Regions from separate parts of the Homo sapiens genome. Here all the other regions are linked to region 1. The links are contacts of gene promoters, found by promoter capture Hi-C in blood cells and fetal thymus (Javierre and others, 2016). All regions are on one chromosome and are shown on one strand. The core of a region is centred on a gene start or on the middle of the fragment in contact, and the rest is flanking DNA. Distances in the headings are between cores, read along the strand shown.

Region 1 (3,201 bases), core at 546-3,045:
TTCTAACACCGTTTCACTGAGATGCTCCATGACTCTCTATGGTGTACAGCTTCCCTTGTTATAATAAGTCAGTAAATATAACTTTGTTCAACTACAGGTGTGTGTCTGATGGTCTCTAGCTAAAGGACATTGACAATATATTGGTATTTTATACGGTAATGGAAATAAATGAACTAGAGCTAAAGATAACACCAATCTTACATTGAGCTAAAAAATGAGGGAAAGAAACAAAATTCAAAGGATTACCTACTGTACACTTTACTTGATACATAGTTTTGTTTTATTTCTACTCATACTCAAGTAAGATATATAGTTTTCAAAAGAGGCAAAACTAAACTGTTTAAGGATGCACACTTAAGCCAGGTGTTAAAATAACTGACAGAGATTGAGAGATTCATTAATTCCCTCATGTCAGGATGTAATTAATGTTCTGTACACTTTCTACTTTCATTCTTTTTTTCCTATTGGAAAATATAGTTAGATTTCCGTTAAGTGGCCATAATTTTATAGCACCTGGGACATAAAGTATTGAGCACAAATGAGAAATCAAATGTTTTAGGTAATGAGCATGAGACAGCATCAGAAGACAAGTTCTAGTTCTTACACTGCCATGAGTAGCTGTATGAATTGGGCAAGTGACTTCATCACTTCGGGCCTTAGTTTCTTCATCTGTTTTTTTTTTTTTTTAAAGTGGAGAGTGGGTGAGAAGGAGACTGGATCTCATCTTTCTGAAATGTCTTATTAAACATTCTATTATCCTATGATCATAAAGGAAACTCAACAAATATCTCCTATATTTCTATTAGGTCATTTTCAATATGTGTAAGCAATCTTATTTTATTTGCTTTAAAATCCAAAACCAAATATTTATCTTCATTTGATTTATTCATTATATTATCTGGGAAGCAGAGTAGTGTACTGATTAAGAGCATAGACTTCGGAGTCAGACAAAATTAAATTGAGTTTTATTTCTAACATTTGCTAGGTAGGGGACCTTGACATAACCTCTCCCATCTCACTTTCTTTGTCTTTTTTTTTTTTTAATAATGTCTACTCCATATAGTTGTTGCAAGTATTAAATTAAATAATGCATGTAAATCACTTGTCATAGTCTCAGTACATGGAAATCATATCCAATAAATACTACTGCCATTATAATCATAAGTGACAAGCCAGCTGCTCCCTTTGTGCACGTGTATACAGATATTTGGAGGGGGGCGGAGCGAATACGTAGAAGTAGCATGATAGCGTAGTGCAAATCAAGAGGTCAGTTGGCTTAGTCCCCTGTCAGTGTACTTACTGGACCTCAAGTTTCTGAAGGAGAATGTCTGTTCCCATTCCTTTTCCTACTGACCACTTCCTCCACATTCTCTAGCTCCCTGCCTCATATATTTGGCTTGGGCTTCGGAAGACTCTGCAGGATCCTTGTGCTTCTTTCTTGGTCTCTGGATGGACCGCAGAGTGTGCAGATGTAGCTTAAACTTGTTGCTGTTCGCCCACAGCTTCAGTGGCTCCAGACAGCTAGCAGATAGAATGACTTCAGCTTGAACGACTAATCTCATTGGCTTCTCAATTCCCAAGGACTTTTTTTCCTGAAAGGGAATTAACAGGTGAGTCTGTTGTTGCTTTGGCAACAAACTTTCAACCTCTACCTAACTCTCCGGAATGAGAACATATCTATTAATACATTCGCTAGACTGGGGAGTTGAGTCGCTCAATGCAAATTTTCTTTCAAGTGCAAAACAGCTTAATGGGCTCGGCTAGCCTTTGGTGGTGCTGCAGTTAGAGGCTAGTGAAGCGGAGAGCAGCTGTTGCAGTAACCTGTTGCAGAAAAGTGAAAGTATATCCGCAACAGTTGGCTCTGATTGCAGAGAGCGCGCTTGTGAGAACTGATGGCGGGTACGCGCAGAAAATCTTTGCAAAACAGGCAAGTGGGATCTCTTCTCATTTTTCTGTGCATATCTGTGGGGGATGCGACAACTATCCGCTATTCAGTGGCAGAGGAAATGGAGAGCGGCTCGTTTGTGGCCAACGTAGCTAAGGACCTAGGACTGGAGGTAGGGAAGCTGGCTGCGCGCGGGGCGCGGCTGGTTTCCGAGGGCAACAAAATGCATTTCCGGCTCCACCGCAAGACGGGAGATTTGTTTGTGAAGGAGAAACTGGATCGGGAGTCACTTTGTGGCAAAGCCGACCCTTGTGTTCTGCACTTTGAAGTAGTCCTGGTGGAGCCGCTGCAGTCCTTCCGGGCCGAGGTCAGGGTATTTGATATCAATGACAATGCCCCAGTTTTCCTAAACAAGGAGCCGCTTTTAAAGATTCCGGAGAGCACCCCTTTGGGTTCACGTTTTCCTCTGCAGAGCGCCCAGGATCTGGACGTGGGCCTTAACGGTCTCCAGAACTACACCCTGAGTGCCAATGGGTATTTCCACCTGCACACCCGCTTCTGCAGCCACGGGCCTAAATATGCTGAGCTGGTGCTGAACAAACCCCTGGACCGAGAGGAGCAGCCTGAAGTCAACTTGACAATTACGGCGGTGGACGGCGGGTCCCCGCCTAAGTCTGGCACAGCTCACATCCACGTGGTGGTTCTGGATGTCAACGACCACGTGCCCCAGTTCTCGCGACTGGTGTACAGAGCCCAGGTATCAGAGAACAGCCCCAATGGCTCTTTGGTGGCCACGGTGACTGCCGTGGACCTAGACGAGGGCACCAACAAAGCGATAACTTACTCTTTAGCTCAAAACCCAGAAGCAATTCTCAAGACGTTTCAGATTGACCCTCAAAATGGAGAAGTTCGACTAAGAGGACCCCTCGATTTTGAAGCCATTGAAACATACGACATTGACATTCAAGCTACAGATGGTGGAGGCCTCTCTGCCCACAGCAAAGTCCTGGTAGAAGTGGTGGATGTGAATGACAATCCTCCCGAAGTGATGGTCTCCTCTGTGTCCAGCCCACTCCCTGAAGACTCACCACCACAGACAGTAGTAGCCCTTTTCACTATCAGAGACCGGGACATTCGAGTGGGAGGAAAAGTCACCTGCTTCCTCAGAGAAGACCTTCCCTTTGTAATCAAACCTACATTTGGGAATTCTTACTCACTGGTCACTGACAGAAGCTTGGATCGGGAGGAGGTCTCAGGCTATAATATCACCATTGTTGCCATGGATACTGGACCACCTAGCTTGTCTGCCGAGACTA
Region 2 (3,201 bases), core at 437-2,936, 230 kb before region 1:
GTTAATTTGCCTTTTAAATACTTAATATTTACTTTTTTCAAAGGTTATCTTTGTGTATTTTGTATAAAATTCTACTATAATTTATTCCATAGCTTTGTAGTTTTACATTATTTACTGTTATATAATAGAAAGTGGCTAACATCAGCTAATGCTGTTTTCTAAATATTTATTATCATTTTCTTATGTTTTTAACCATTGTGTATTAAAATATTTCAAAATTATCAGTATGAAAACTATTAGGCAAATAGTCTGGGAAATTGATTTGTGTTTCAACGATCCAAATATTAGTGAAAAGTCATGATAATAGAGATAGTAAAAATCTTATAAGGGAACTGGTAAATATATCTTTAAAGATTGTATCAGAAACAATTCTATGACAATATCTTGTTTCTTTACAAGTTTGAATTCCAGAAATCAAGTGAATTTCCTCTGACTTTGCATTTTCTGGTAATTTCTTTTTTCTTATCAAGCTATATTTTAAATGTAAAAGTATCCAACAATAGAATTGCTAATCTCTTGGTCCCTCTTGTCTTCACAGGTAAGGGATATTTTGTAATATTTAAGGAATTTTATGGAGTATATATACAAGCAGAATGTTAGCTATTTCTTCAATAGAAAACTTGGTGATATTTTCTTTTGCCCATATTTATTAAGTGAAGTTTACTAAATTTTCTAGGTCGTGTTCAAATCATACCATCCAGTAAACAGTTGGGAGATTAAAAAGTAATTAAACTAATATAAAGATAGCCTGGTTAATAAAATGATATTCTTTTCAACATGATTATATTTACTGGAACCTAAACATTTTGTGAAATAGTATGTCATATAGACAATATTAGGATTTTGACTTGTTATGTAAGTACAAAGGTATGTATTTTACAATTTTTAATAATTGCTTTATCAGTAATAGCAACTTGAAGAAATGCTATCTAGATGCTTCTAATTTGAAAATAGTGCAAAGACGATTTACCAAAGTCGTTCTATTATGCTTTTGATTTCTAGAAAGCTGAAATATCCCCATTACAGTTTTTGAGTCAATACAAAAAGTAGATAGGTGTTATAGATAAAGAAATAGGTTTTCATCGATTTGAAAATTAGAACTCCGAGAAGAAACTCAGGTAAGAATGCCATTAAAATAGTTTTAGTTGTTTTTGAAAATAACATCAACAAAATGTCACTATTAAACAGTGAAATTGGAATAAAAATTTGTTTTATGAGTAACACGGAGATAGCATACAAACATTCCATTGACTAATACAGAAAAAACTCAAAAGTTTTAATTAGATATGTTTAAATAGAGATGAGAAAAGTCAAAACTTTAACTCTTAAAAGTTATTTTTATCAGTTTGGAAATATATAAACTCCTCCCTATATAAAATACACCAGCACAAATTTCTCTAGTAAGGATTGGGGTTTCATGACTTTAGATGTATTTTTCTGTAATATTTTAATGACGCACTTATATTGACGCATTTTAAGATAGAGTTTAATGATATATTTTGACTAGAGATAAGTGATTTAAAGAATAAGAATCATGTCATTGAAAGTGAGAATACTTGAGAAATATTGACGAATATAAGCTAAATAAAGCAAAACAAAATAAAACACTTACCCTTTCATCCACATGATGTCGCTGGACACCGGAAGGTTTTTCTCCCTTCCCAGCCTCAAAGGAATACAGTGAGTAGATTTTCCTTAGACAGAAAGGAAAAGAACCTTCCATTTTTGGCTGTGCCAAGAAGCTCAGAAAGGCGATAATATAAAAAATATATAGTTAATTGGGAATTGAATTTACAAAATACATTGTGTGGTGATGCAATAGAAAGCTCATAATTGGAACGAGATTGAGATGGTATATTCCCGGAGAGGAAGTCTGGGATCCCGGCTCCTGCTGCTCTGGCTTCTCCTTGCCTACTGGAAGGCAGGGAGCGGCCAGCTCCACTACTCGATCCCGGAGGAAGCCAAACACGGAACCTTCGTTGGCCGCATCGCGCAGGACCTAGGGCTGGAGCTGGCGGAGCTGGTGCCGCGCCTGTTCCGGGTGGCGTCCAAGGGCCGCGGGGACCTTCTGGAGGTAAATCTGCAGAATGGCATTTTGTTTGTGAATTCTCGGATCGACCGGGAGGAGCTGTGCCGGCGGAGGGCGGAGTGCAGCATCCACCTGGAGGTGATCGTGGACAGGCCGCTGCAGGTTTTCCATGTGGAGGTGGCAGTGAAGGACATCAATGACAATCCGCCCAGGTTCTCCAGACAAGAACAAAGATTATTCATTTTAGAGTCAAGAATGCCAGATTCGCGGTTTCCGCTAGAGGGCGCGTCGGATTTGGATATTGGAGCAAATGCACAATTGAGATACAGGTTAAATCCAAACGAATATTTTGACTTAGATGTTAAAACAAATGAAGAAGAAACGAACTTTTTAGAGCTGGTTTTGAGGAAATCCTTAGATAGAGAAGAAACACAAGAACACCGTTTATTAGTGATTGCAACTGATGGAGGAAAACCCGAACTAACAGGTACAGTTCAGTTGTTGATCAATGTATTGGATGCTAATGATAACGCCCCAGAATTTGATAAATCCATTTATAATGTCAGATTGTTGGAAAATGCACCAAGTGGGACATTAGTTATTAAACTGAACGCCTCAGATGCAGATGAGGGCATCAATAAGGAAATAGTGTATTTCTTTAGTAATCTTGTTCTTGACGATGTAAAGTCCAAATTTATAATTAATTCTAATACTGGTGAAATAAAAGTTAACGGGGAACTGGATTATGAAGACTATAACTCATATGAAATTAATATTGATGCCATGGATAAAAGTACATTCCCATTATCAGGACACTGTAAAGTAGTAGTGAAACTCCTGGATGTGAATGATAATACCCCAGAGATGGCCATAACCACCCTTTTCCTGCCTGTCAAAGAGGACGCTCCACTCAGCACGGTCATTGCTCTGATCAGCGTGTCTGACCGTGACTCAGGTGCCAACGGGCAGGTGACCTGCTCCCTAATGCCCCACGTTCCCTTCAAGCTGGTGTCCACCTTCAAGAATTACTACTCGTTGGTGCTGGACAGCGCCCTGGACCGCGAGAGCGTGTCGGTCTATGAGCTGGTGGTGACCGCGCGGGACGGGGGCTCGCCTTCGCTGTGGGCCACCGCCAGCGTGTCTGTGGAAGTGGCCGACGTGAACGACAACGC
Region 3 (3,201 bases), core at 300-2,799, 200 kb before region 1:
AGTCACACAATGCAAGGCAAGATAATGTAACAGGTACAAGAGGTAAATCAGAATGACGTTGAAGTTGAAAGACAATCATTTCCTATTTGAATTTTTGAAGAAATACTTGAAGGGGCATGGTGTGTTTCAGTGGTTTTAAAATAAGTAAGTTCCCCCCGGGAGAATATTGAGAATGATAGACATTTCTTGGAAAGAGAAAACATAAGGAAAGTTGAAGACACAGAAAGCATCAATATGACAAGTAGAAAAGTCCACTTTGGTTAAAACACACAGTCTGCAGAGAATGAAAGCAGGAAAACCAATGTAAGAAGATCTCTTGATTTCTGAGTAATAAACTAAAGGGCCATGAGTGATTAAGGAATTTGGCCACTCTTTAGAATTAATTGGGAGCTATTTAACTACCTTGAGCAAAATAAATCACGACTTTTGAAAGAAGGTTGAACGGGAAGACAAACTCAGAAGCTCCTGCAGTAATCAAGGACAGAAGCAATTGTTAAATGCACCTCTTAGGCTGTTATCAGTAGAAATACGAAATAAAAGATAAATATGCAAAAACATTAATGGCACAATAAACACTCACGGTTTTGCCTTTAGACTTGAGATACACTAAAATCTAGATTTAATTAATCGACTTGGACGTTGGAATAAGATAGTAAAACTCACAACAAAACTTTGTAGAACTTAGTCAGGAAAAGAATCTCAAGCATAGCTTTAAAAACAGAAATTGCCCCGAGTACTAAGGATGAGCAATAATGAAATTAAAACATATTGTAATAACATTACACAAACTATATTGGAGACTACAAAGAAGAGATTATTCATAGATTATAAAGCTTGGAAAGAATCAAAACAACACATTTCTGGAAACAGATTGTATAAATGCTACAAAAGAGAAAAATATATTTTCTCCCCACGCAACACAAGACCTTAAAGTCAATTCTCGCTTTTCTTGCAATATTTTATACCTTTTCAATTCATAGAATTACTCAAGAAAACTACCTCAGTTGGTTGCTACTTTTTGTTGATTCCTTTTACCAGACATGACTAAGTTTCTTTTTCATCAGTAGATTTCTGGGCTCCTATATTCACTAGAGATTGCAACTCCTGGATTTCTCTTACACTAGAATCCTATTTCGAGCCATATGGGAGATTCTGAATTCCAGAACAAAAGAATTTTGTAATTTAAAATTCGTGATTGCTCAATGGAATCATTTTAATTGTTACTTCATTTCTGTCGTTATTTAAAACTTAAGTGGAGAGTTTTCTCAGGGATAAGAAAACCACAATCAAGGTCATACAAAACTTTTAGAGGCAGTCAGTCTGCTAAGAAGGCTCCAGCAAGAGAAACGGGATCTTCTGTTTCAACAATCATTACTTAAGAAAAAATTAAGAAAATGAAATAAGTTTTGCAGAATAACTGTGAAATTTTTATTCATGAAATATGTACTTACACTTTGGGCCACGTGATGTCACTCTTTGCCGCGATGTTCTCTCTGAATCCAGACAAATACAGCCCTTTTCCCATGGGAAAGAGGCTCAATTCTTTTTCACTCTCTCTGTGCTGAACGATGGCGAACACAGCAGAATGGGACTGACGAAATCAGATGATTTCTTCTAATTTGGAGGCAATTTTCACTAATTAGAAGAAGACTGAGTATTTGAAATGTTATACTCAAGTCGAGGAGATCCAGAGGGTCAGCCTCTACTGCTCTCGCTTCTGATCCTCGCAATGTGGGTGGTGGGGAGCGGCCAGCTCCACTACTCCGTCCCGGAGGAAGCCGAACACGGCACCTTCGTGGGCCGCATCGCGCAGGACCTGGGGCTGGAGCTGGCGGAGCTGGTGCCGCGCCTGTTCCAGTTGGATTCCAAAGGCCGCGGGGACCTTCTGGAGGTAAATCTGCAGAATGGCATTTTGTTTGTGAATTCTCGGATCGACCGCGAGGAGCTGTGCGGGCGGAGCGCGGAGTGCAGCATCCACCTGGAGGTGATCGTAGACAGGCCGCTGCAGGTTTTCCATGTGGACGTGGAGGTGAAGGACATTAACGACAACCCTCCAGTGTTCCCAGCGACACAAAAGAATCTGTTCATCGCGGAATCCAGGCCGCTTGACTCTCGGTTTCCACTAGAGGGCGCGTCCGATGCAGATATCGGGGAGAACGCCCTGCTCACTTACAGACTGAGCCCCAATGAGTATTTCTTCCTGGACGTGCCAACCAGCAACCAGCAGGTAAAACCTCTTGGACTTGTATTACGGAAACTTTTAGACAGAGAAGAAACTCCGGAGCTTCATTTATTGCTCACGGCCACCGATGGAGGCAAACCCGAGCTGACTGGCACCGTTCAATTACTCATCACGGTACTGGACAACAATGACAATGCCCCAGTGTTCGACAGAACCCTGTATACGGTGAAATTACCAGAAAACGTTTCTATCGGAACGCTGGTGATTCACCCCAATGCCTCAGATTTAGACGAAGGCTTGAATGGGGATATTATTTACTCCTTCTCCAGTGATGTTTCTCCAGATATAAAATCCAAGTTCCACATGGACCCCTTAAGTGGGGCAATCACAGTGATAGGACATATGGATTTTGAAGAAAGTAGAGCACACAAGATCCCAGTCGAGGCTGTCGATAAAGGCTTCCCACCCCTGGCTGGTCATTGTACACTTCTTGTGGAAGTTGTGGATGTAAATGACAATGCTCCACAGTTGACTATCAAAACGCTCTCGGTTCCTGTAAAAGAGGACGCACAACTGGGGACAGTTATTGCCCTGATTAGTGTGATCGACCTAGACGCAGATGCCAACGGGCAGGTTACCTGCTCCCTGACGCCCCACGTCCCCTTCAAGCTGGTGTCCACCTACAAGAATTACTACTCGTTGGTGCTGGACAGAGCTCTGGACCGCGAGAGTGTGTCCGCCTACGAGCTGGTGGTTACCGCGCGGGACGGGGGCTCGCCTTCACTGTGGGCCACGGCCAGGGTGTCTGTGGAGGTGGCCGACGTGAACGACAACGCACCAGCGTTCGCGCAGTCCGAGTACACGGTGTTCGTGAAGGAGAACAACCCGCCGGGCTGCCACATCTTCACGGTGTCTGCGCGGGACGCTGACGCGCAGGAGAACGCCCTGGTGTCCTACTCGCTGGTGGAGCGGCGGTTGGGCGAGCGCTCGCTGTCGAGCTACGTGTCAGTGCACGCGGA
Region 4 (3,201 bases), core at 241-2,740, 160 kb before region 1:
AGTTATTTGCCTACTTTTCTATTGAAAAAAAATTTTTAGTTTCAGTTTGGAAAAGTTCTCTGTACCTTATAGATATTAACTGTTTATCTATTTTTTGACATTTTTAATTAAAATTTTTATTTTGAGATAATTATAGATTCGCATGTGGTTGAAAGAAATAGTAAAGGGAGATGCTATGTATTCTTCACTAAGTTTTCCCCAATAGTAACATCTTACAAAAGCGTAGGGCCATACCACAACCTGGATATTGACATTGATACAGTAAAGAAGTAACATAGTTCCGTAACAACCAGATTCTTGATATCACCTTTTTATAGCCACATCTGCTTCCCTGCCTAATGCTGGCAAGCAGTAATCTGTTCTCCATTTCTCTAATTTTGTTACTTTTACTTCAGAAATAAATAAAAGTATCTCTATTTATAGATAAAATTTTTTAAAATTATTTTTATATTTATTTATTTTTTATTACACTTTAAGTTCTGGGATACATGTGCAGAACGTGCAGGTTTGTTACATAGGTGTACATGCCATGGTGTGCTTATCTATTATCTGCATCACAAATATGTTTTCCTCCTATATTATTTCTATTCATTTGTTTGTACTAATTTTGTCATATATAAATGTTTTTAAAATGTATGAATTAAAATATATCTTTTTCCTTTTATGGATTTTAAGGTCTGCATATTCAGTTAGAAAGGTCTTCCCAGCTGGGCACGGTGGCTCACGCCTGTAATCCCAGCACTTTGGGAGGCCAAGGTGGGCGGATCAGGAGATCAGGAGTCCGAGACCAGCCTGGCCAACATGGTGAAACCCTGTCTCTACTAAAAATACAAAAATTAGCGAGGCATGGTGGCACGCGCCTGTAATCCCAGCTACTTGGGAGGCTGAAGCAAGAGAATTGCTTGAACCCGGGAGGTGGAGGTTGCAGTGAGATGAGATCATGCTACTGTACTCCAGCTCTGGGTGACAGAGCAAGACTTCGTCTTGAAAAAAAAAAAAAAAAAAAAGAAAGGTCTTCCCAACTCCTATATTGAACATTCATTAATTAAATGCATTTAATAAATACTTATTGAGTGTTCTCTATGTGCCAGGCATGTTCTACACATTAGACATTTAGCAACGAAATTTATTATTTTGTAAATCCAAATTTCCAGTTGGTATCACTTTCCTACTGCCTGAAAAATTTCTTTAATATTTTTTATAGTGCATATGTTCTGGCAACAAATTCACTCAGCTTTTGTCTGAGAAATATCTTTATCTCTTTTTTTTTTTTTGAGACGGAGTCTCACTCTGTCGCCCAGGCTGGAGTACAGTGGCGTGATCTCGGCTCACTGCAAGCTCCACCTCCCGGGTTCACGCCATTCTCCTGCCTCAGCCTCCCGAGTAGCTGAGACTACCGGCGCCCGCCACCACGCCCTGCTAATTTTTTGTATTTTTAGTAGAGATGGGGTTTCATCTTGTTAGCCAGGATAGTCTCGAACTCCTGACCTCGTGATCCACCTGGCTCGGCCTCCCAAAGTGCTGGGATTACAGGTGTGAGCCACCGCGCCCGGCTCTTTATCTCATTTTTATTTTTGAAAAAGTATTTTCACTGGGCATAGTTGACAGTTTTTTAAAAGATATAATTCAGTTGTCTTCTGGCTTGCATAGTTTCTAATAAGATGTTTGCTTTTTTATATATGAGTCTTCCTCTCCCCACCCCTCATGGTTACTGTTAAAACTTTTCTTTTTATCCTGACTTTTGCAGATTGATTGTGATGTGCTTTAGTATGGTTTTCTTTATGTTAGTCTGTTGGGGTTTGTTGATATTCTTGGATCTGTGGATTTATCATTTTCATCAAATTCAGGAAAAAATCAACCATACTTCTTCTAATAGTTTTTTCTTTCCTTCCATCCTTTCTGAGACTCCAGTAACACATATGTTACAATGACACAGGTCATTGAAGCGTTCTTTATTTTTGTCCATTTCTTTCTCTGTGCCTCATTTTGAATATCTTTTATTGACATATTTTCCAAGTTCACTAATTTTTCCTTTTGTAGTATCATATCTGTTAATCCTAAACAGTGTATTCTTCATTTCAGAGACCATATTTATTTCTTATCTGTATAAGATTCTTTTTGTCTCTTTTAAAATTTATTTTACATGTCTCCACCGAATAGTCATCTTTTTATCTATATGTTTGAGCATATTAGTACATGTATAATAGATGTTTTAACTTTCTTGTCTGCTAATTTCAACATTTTTGTCCTTAGTTTGCTTCTTTTAATCTATCTTCTTCTATGGATATATTTTCTTGCTGTTTTGCATGACTGGTAATCTCTAATAAGATGCTAGACATTGTGAATTTTACATTGTCGGATGCTGGATTTTGTGTGTGTGTGCATGTGTGTGCGTGTTCCTTTAAAGCAGTAGTTCTTGATAAGAAACAGTTTTGTCCCCTCTACCCCCTACCCAGGAGATAATTTGGCAATGCCTGGATACATTTTTGGTTATTACAACTAGGGAATTGCTACTGGCATCTAATAATGGAGCTCTGAGATGCTGCTAAACACCATCCAATTGCTGCCAAACATCCTACCGTGCACAGGACAGCCGCCCAACAATAAAGAATTAGCTCAAAATGTCAGTAGTTCCACTGTTGAGAAACTCTGCTTTAAAGAGTCTTGGACTTAGTTCTGACGTGAAGTTAAGTTGCTCAGTACCAATTTATTCCTTTCAAGGCTTCATTTTAAGATTTGTTAGTACACATTCAGAGCAGCTTTTAGTGTAGCACTAATTCGGCCTTCTATTACAGCAATACTTTCCTGAGGACACCACCTAATGCCCTGTGCATTAAGAGGTCTCTCTTCTCTGATTGGTAGGAATGTGAAATATTTCCAGCCCTTTGTGAGCTCTAGGAATTATTCTACCCACTTTTTTTTTTAATTTTGAAGGGATAGCCTGATCTGGGGAGGTTGATCAGTGATCTGTGATCTGTGATCACATCACTCCACTGCAGCCTGGTGACAGAGTGAGACCATGTCTCAACATAAAAATTAAAACATTAGAATTGAGGTTTAATGTTATCAAATATTTTATCTGCATCTTTTGAGGGAGGTATAAATTTTTTCTTTGGCAATGTTAATGTGTTGAATTTATGATTTATGATTTTCTTATGGCAAACCAACCTCTACTTCCTTGGATAACCGTAATTTGATTAT

What was found. Contacts are between HindIII fragments. The CHiCAGO score rates a contact against its expected background, and 5 or more counts as called.
Region 2: the fragment with the promoter of PCDHA5 here is called in contact with the fragment with the promoter of PCDHB1 in region 1 in 6 of 17 cell types (endothelial precursors, M2 macrophages, M1 macrophages and 3 more); the score reaches 9.6 in endothelial precursors.
Region 3: a contact is called between the fragment with the promoter of PCDHA9 here and the fragment with the promoter of PCDHB1 in region 1, in 4 of 17 cell types (endothelial precursors, erythroblasts, neutrophils and 1 more). The highest score is 7.9, in endothelial precursors.
Region 4: a fragment that was not itself captured here is called in contact with the fragment with the promoter of PCDHB1 in region 1 in 2 of 17 cell types (M1 macrophages and endothelial precursors); the score reaches 6.0 in M1 macrophages.

The regions. Positions count from the first base shown.
Region 1 is chr5:141,049,579-141,052,779 of GRCh38, forward strand. PCDHB1 (protocadherin beta 1) reads left to right here and starts at 1,796. Exons shown (of 1, transcript NM_013340.4): 1 at 1,796-3,201. The coding sequence starts at 1,893. PCDHB1-AS1 (PCDHB1 antisense RNA 1) reads right to left here. Exons shown (of 4, transcript NR_105056.2): 3 at 1,301-1,592. It also overlaps PCDHB@. RefSeq lists an enhancer at 1,377-2,205. The HindIII fragment of the contact is 4,524 bases long and covers 1-3,116 here.
Region 2 is chr5:140,819,927-140,823,127 of GRCh38, forward strand. PCDHA5 (protocadherin alpha 5) reads left to right here and starts at 1,687. Exons shown (of 4, transcript NM_018908.3): 1 at 1,687-3,201. The coding sequence starts at 1,850. The region is part of intron 1 of PCDHA1 (protocadherin alpha 1); the gene reads left to right. All of the region lies in intron 1 of PCDHA2 (protocadherin alpha 2), which reads left to right. The region is part of intron 1 of PCDHA3 (protocadherin alpha 3); the gene reads left to right. It also overlaps PCDHA4 and PCDHA@. The HindIII fragment of the contact is 13,774 bases long and covers 1-3,201 here.
Region 3 is chr5:140,846,833-140,850,033 of GRCh38, forward strand. PCDHA9 (protocadherin alpha 9) reads left to right here and starts at 1,550. Exons shown (of 4, transcript NM_031857.2): 1 at 1,550-3,201. The coding sequence starts at 1,664. The region is part of intron 1 of PCDHA1 (protocadherin alpha 1); the gene reads left to right. All of the region lies in intron 1 of PCDHA2 (protocadherin alpha 2), which reads left to right. All of the region lies in intron 1 of PCDHA3 (protocadherin alpha 3), which reads left to right. It also overlaps PCDHA4, PCDHA5, PCDHA6, PCDHA7, PCDHA8 and PCDHA@. The HindIII fragment of the contact is 21,410 bases long and covers 832-3,201 here.
Region 4 is chr5:140,885,841-140,889,041 of GRCh38, forward strand. The region is part of intron 1 of PCDHA1 (protocadherin alpha 1); the gene reads left to right. The region is part of intron 1 of PCDHA2 (protocadherin alpha 2); the gene reads left to right. The region is part of intron 1 of PCDHA3 (protocadherin alpha 3); the gene reads left to right. The region is part of intron 1 of PCDHA4 (protocadherin alpha 4); the gene reads left to right. It also overlaps PCDHA5, PCDHA6, PCDHA7, PCDHA8, PCDHA9 and PCDHA10, and 4 more genes. Among named protein-coding and RNA genes, the nearest start is that of PCDHA13, 5.3 kb to the left of the region's middle. The HindIII fragment of the contact is 5,330 bases long and covers 1-3,201 here.